2 separate regions of the Homo sapiens genome follow, and region 1 is linked to region 2. The links are contacts of gene promoters, found by promoter capture Hi-C in human tissues and cell types (Jung and others, 2019). All regions are on one chromosome and are shown on one strand. The core of a region is centred on a gene start or on the middle of the fragment in contact, and the rest is flanking DNA. Distances in the headings are between cores, read along the strand shown.

Region 1 (2,700 bases), core at 106-2,605, 310 kb before region 2:
GCCAAAGTGGCATGGTCACAACCTTGGTCCCAAGGCCATGCTTTGGGATCTAAGGGTGGTGGAGGCTCCGGGGGCCAGCCCTGCCCAGGCTCTGAGGGACTCTGACCTTTCCGGGTCAGGGTTCCCAGCTTCAGCCCCACTTCTCCCTCCCCTGCAGTTTACATCATCCTCGGCCGGGTTTTCCTGCTCTCTGCAGTTTTCTTGGCTTTCGTCACCACCTTCATCATGATGCCCTTTGCATCCGAGTTCTTCCCGAGGACCTGGAAGCAAAACTTTGTGTTAGCCTGCATCAGCTTCTTCACAGGTGTGGAACAGCTAGGTGATCCCTGACCTTCGCTAGGGCCTGGGGAGGAGTCCAGAGAAAGAGGGGTGCTCAGTCTCTGTGATGTCAAAAGAGGCATAATTTTTCTTTTTAGGGACAGGGTCTCACTCTGTTACCCAGGCTGGAGTGCAGTGGTGCTATCATAGCTCACTGCAGCCTTAACCTCCCAGGCTAAAGTGATCCTCCCACCTCAGCCTCCCAAGTAGATGGGACTCTAGGCATGTGCCACCATTCCTGGCTAATTTAAACATTTTTTTTTTTGGTAGAGATGGGGATCTCGCTATGTTGCCCAGGCTGGCCTTGAACTCCTGGTGTCAAGCGGTCCTCCTGCCTCAGCCTCCCAATTGCTGAGATTACAGGCATGAACCACTGCACCTGGCCCCTTTTGACATTTATAAAGGGTGACCCAGGCTCCACCCTGAGAGGCTCCTAGGCAAATGGTGGAGGTAGAGCAGTAGGAAAATGGGATTGCATTTAATCCAAAGTGTTGCACCCTCTGCTAAGGTGCAGAGGTGAGCTAAGGGCAGATGCAGAGGGTGCTAGGAAAGGGAGTTCTGATGATGGTTCCCTGGAAGGTAAAGCACATGGGCTTTGAAGATGAGTCAGAAAGGAGGGAGGGACAGGCATCTGGGTAGGAGTTTTGTTTCAGAGAGGGGGCAAGGATGAAGGAGCCTCCAGGCAGGAGCCACAGGGGGTGAAGTTTGGAGGGAAGGCGGGTAGCATGGGAGGAGACCGAGGGTGTCTCCCTGTGACCCTCCAGGGGCCTGTGCCTTCCTGGCTTTGGTGCTGCATGCCCTGGAGATCAAGGCTCTGAGGATGAAGCTCGGCCCCCTGCAGTTCTCCGTGCTGTGGCCTTACTACGTGCTGGGCTTCGGCATCTTTCTGTTCATAGTGGCTGGTGAGTGTCCAGGGAACAGTGCCCTGCTTCTTGTCCTCGGTCTGGATTTAGGAACCTGTCTTGTGGAGGCCCTCCCTTTGGATTCTCTAGAATTGCACTGTTCCAAACCGCAGCTGCCAGTTAGACGTGGCTATTTAACTTTCGTTAATTAAAATAGTTATTGGCCAGATGTGGTGGTTCACACCTGTAATTCCAGTGCTTCGGGAGGCCGAGATGGGTGGATCACTTGAGGCCAGGAGTTTGAGACCAGCCTGGCCAACATGGTGAAACCCCATCTCTACTAAAAATACAAAAATTAGCTGGGCGTGATGGCACATGTCTGCAATCCCAGCTACTCGGGAGGTTGAGGCAGGAGAATCGCTTGAACCCAGGAGGCAGAGGTTGCAGTGAGCCGAGATCACATCACTGCACTCCAGCCTGGGTGACAGAGCAAAACTCCATCTCTAAAATAAAATAAAAAGTTATGAATTCAGTTCCTCAGCCATACTAGCCACATCACCGATGTTCAATAACCACATATGTCCAGTGGCTATTGGACACTGTCATATTGGACAGTGCAGACAGAGAAATTTCCTTCTCTGCAGAACGTTCTACCTGACAGCACTGCTCTGGAGCTTCAACCCCATCCTTGGCCTTCCTGTTCTTATCCTTCTTGACTTAGAACTAAACTCTTTCAAATTTTTATAGTCTCCCTTCCACCATCCTGGTTCCTTAGGCTATCTATTTCTGTCTCTACCTTTTTTTTTTTTTTTTTTAAGAGATAGGGTCTTGCTTTGTTGCCCAGGTTGGAGTGCAGTGGTACAACTGCAGCCTCCAACTCTGGGGCTCAAGCGATCCTCCTGCCTCAGCCTCTTGAATCACTGGAACTACAGGCATGTGCCACCATGGCCAGCTAGTTAAAAAAAAATATATATATATATATATACACACACACACACACACACACACACACACATATTTATATATGCACATATATATGTATGTGTGTATATATGTATATAGACATACATATATGTGTGTGTGTGCACGTATATATATATATATATATACACACACACATATATGTGTATATATGGCCAGGTGCACTGGCTCACACCTGTCATCTCAGCACTTCGGGAGGCCAAGGCAGGTGGACCACCTGAGGTTAGGAGTTCAAGACCAGCCTGGCCAACATGGCGAAAACCCATCTCTACTAAAAATACAAAAATTAGCTGGGTATGGTGGTGCGTGCCTGTAATCCCAGCTACTCAGTAGGCTGAAGCAGGATAATCACTTGAACCCAGGAGGTGGAGGTTGCGGTGAGCTGAGATCTCACCACTGCACTCCAGCCTGGGCAACAGCGGGACTCCATCTCAAAAAAACAAACAAACAAAAAACCACATATTTAAGCTTTTATTTCTTAATTTCCCCTTCACCAAATAGAGTTACAATATTTTATATTTTAACCTTTTAATTCCATTTTTCCATGATTTCCATGAAT
Region 2 (2,700 bases), core at 170-2,669:
AATCATCAGCTGTCTATGACATTTACAGATACAGACAGGCACTGTCCAATACAGTATCCATTTAGCCATACAAGCACCTGAAACGTGGATATTCCAAACTGCTATGTGTTGTAAATGTAAAATACACACCAATTTCAGACCTATTATGAAAAAGGAGTATAAAATATCTCATTGAGGCCGGGCGTGGTGACTCACACCTTAATCCCAGCACTATGGGAGGCCAAGCGGGGCAGATCACTTGAGGTCAGCAGTTCGAGACCAGCCTGGCCAAGATGGTGAAACCCCTCTATACTAAAAAACAAAAATTAACCGGGTGTGGTGGCGTGTGCCTGTAATCCCAGCTACTCGGGAGGCTGAGGCAGGAGAACTGCTTGAACCCCGGAGGAGGAGGTTGCAGTGAGCCAAGATCACGCCACTGTGCTCCAGCCTGGGCAATAAAGTGAGACTCCATCTCAGAAAAAAAAAAAAAATCTCATTGATAATTTTCATCTCAGCTTTGAATATTTGGGGTAATCAGATTAAATAAAATATATTATTACAATTAACGTCACCTCGTTTCCTTATCTTACCAGAAAGATTTTAAATTACATATGTGGTTTCTATTGGACAGCAGCGGCACACACCCTCTCAGTATGTTTTTCTTTATTATGAGCTCCCCAAGGGCCAGTTTATTGAAAATTCTGCACAATGATTGCTGAGGTTTGCACCTCCCCTCCTCTCATTCCAGTTTTAACCCTAGCTCTGAAATTCGTGTTTTGCTTAACTTCTTTGAGTTTCAGGGGCTTTTCATGCTTCCAGTAGGAATGACAGCCACTTCGTGGCTCTTTTAGGAGCATTAAGTAAACTTTATCGGGCAACACTGACAGCCCCGTCATAGTCACCGCGACGGCCAGCTCACCCGGTAGCTCTCGAAGGCCTCGTCGATGGGTGCCATGGCGTGAGTCTGGTGCTCCTGGGACTCCCTGCACACCAGGCACACTGGCCGCTGGTCGTCCTCGCAGAAGAGCCGCAGCGGCTCCCAGTGGCGGCCGCACAGGCCCGGGGGCACGGGGCCCAGGCGCCGGCGCTGCGTCTTCTCAGTCAGCCTGGCCAGGGCCCAGTTGGGTCGCAGCGCGGCGGGCGCCGATGGGTGCCGACATTCGGGGCAGGGGAACGGGCCGCCGCCCGGCGCCCAGTTGCGGTGCAGGCAGCCGCGGCAGAAGTTGTGGCCGCACTCGATGGACACCGGGTCCTGGAAATAGTCCAGGCAGATGGGGCAGGTCAACTCCTCCTGGATGTCCTCAGCTTCCATGCTGCTTCCCTGCCGCGGAGACGGAGTCCGACGTGAGGCGCGGGAGAGGCCAGCAAGCTGCGAGCGGCCGCGGGGAGGCCAGACGACTTCCGAACCGCCGTCACCGCCTCACGTAAAAGGGTACAACGCAGTTTCTCTTCCGGGGTTCAGGACCCAAAAAGAACGCACGGACGTTGCCCGGCCTGAGCGCGCAAGACCGGAAGCTGCTGGGTATCCGCGCCGGAACCGCGAGGGGGTTGGTTCAGGCCTAGGCGCGGGGCAGGACGGGACCGGTGAGTGGCTCCTCCAAACAGCTATAGAGACCCAGAAATGCCTGTGGAAAGCTACAGAGGACTTGGGCAAGGCGTTAGAGCCGGACGTTGTGGTCCCTGGGGGAGCCAACCGGGGAGGTGCCTATGATCTTTCTTTCCAAGTTTGAGGGTTCAGGTCTGTGTTCGCCTGCTGGTTAGACCGATTTAAGTTTTAGAGTCCCAGGAGTTCTGGGCGAGCTGCAGCCTAGGGGCCTGGAAGGCCAGGAAGACTTGAAGGATCTGTGTTGGTAGGCCTGGAGTTTGGCTAACGTGGGGATGATTTGGATTCTGAGATGCAGATACATTGCCTTTTTGGTATCCAATTTGAAAAGTAGCAACCATTTTGCTATCCCAAAGAACATCCATGGAGGCTTTCAACAAATAATATGCTCACCTGTTTCAGGGAATTATCTATATCCCTTAAGTGGATTTTCGATCTTGTGTTTCTGAGGTGCTTTGCTTTTTATTCTTCCCACTTTCTTCCTTTTCTTGTGAATATTTGTTTAAAACAAAAAAAACTCTGGACTGACAAATTTAATAGAAGCTATTTGCACAAAGAACAGTTCATGAATTGGGCAGCACTCAGAACCAAAAGAGGTTCAGAGAGCTCTGTCCAGCAGTATGACCTGCTAGCTTTTATAGGAAGCAAAGTAGAGAAATCACCTCATTAGCTAACATCTAGGTGTCTGCCTTATTTGACAATGATATGATGAGGCATTTGCCTTATTGGGGCATGGTCTGATCAGTTGGCTGTCTGTTATTTGCTGAAGCTCGGCCGTGATTGGCTGAAACCCAGCTGTTATAAAAAATAAAGTAAGTTAGGCTTCAGTTCGTTTACATACTAAGTCAGGTTGTATTTTGTTATATGGGAACTCAAGTACCAAGACAGCCTCAGGCTAATGGGCTTTTGCTTATTTAACAGATTTTTCATTCTTTTTATGTCCCAATATCAAATACTGCCTTTCCTATAATAATTTTTCTCAGTAAGTAGTATGATTAAATGATTAGAAAAAGGGGTTCTTGAGGTATCTGTTTGGGGGTTATTGATGAAAGTTCCACTGAATATTTCTAAAACATTTAAATTGGACAACTAATGAATGGATTTTCTTTGCAAATTGG

Evidence for each region. The method cuts DNA at HindIII sites, captures the fragments that hold promoters and counts their contacts. A contact is called where the count stands out against the background at its distance.
Region 1: a fragment that was not itself captured here is called in contact with the fragment with the promoter of TRIM4 in region 2 in 1 of the 25 tissues and cell types used here (H1 embryonic stem cells).

The regions. Positions count from the first base shown.
Region 1 is chr7:99,606,591-99,609,290 of GRCh38, forward strand. TMEM225B (transmembrane protein 225B) reads left to right here. Exons shown (of 6, transcript NM_001195541.3): 4 at 158-304; 5 at 1,083-1,220. Among named protein-coding and RNA genes, the nearest start is that of ZSCAN25, 9.0 kb to the right of the region's middle. The HindIII fragment of the contact is 8,768 bases long and covers 1-2,700 here.
Region 2 is chr7:99,918,111-99,920,810 of GRCh38, forward strand. It overlaps TRIM4 (tripartite motif containing 4), which reads right to left and starts at 1,420. Exons shown (of 6, transcript NM_033091.3): 1 at 899-1,420. The coding sequence starts at 1,291. LOC101927610 (a long non-coding RNA gene) reads left to right here and starts at 1,493. Exons shown (of 2, transcript XR_001745296.3): 1 at 1,493-1,717. RefSeq lists a silencer at 992-1,151 and enhancers at 1,282-1,331, 1,362-1,441, 1,682-1,791. The HindIII fragment of the contact is 5,230 bases long and covers 1-2,700 here.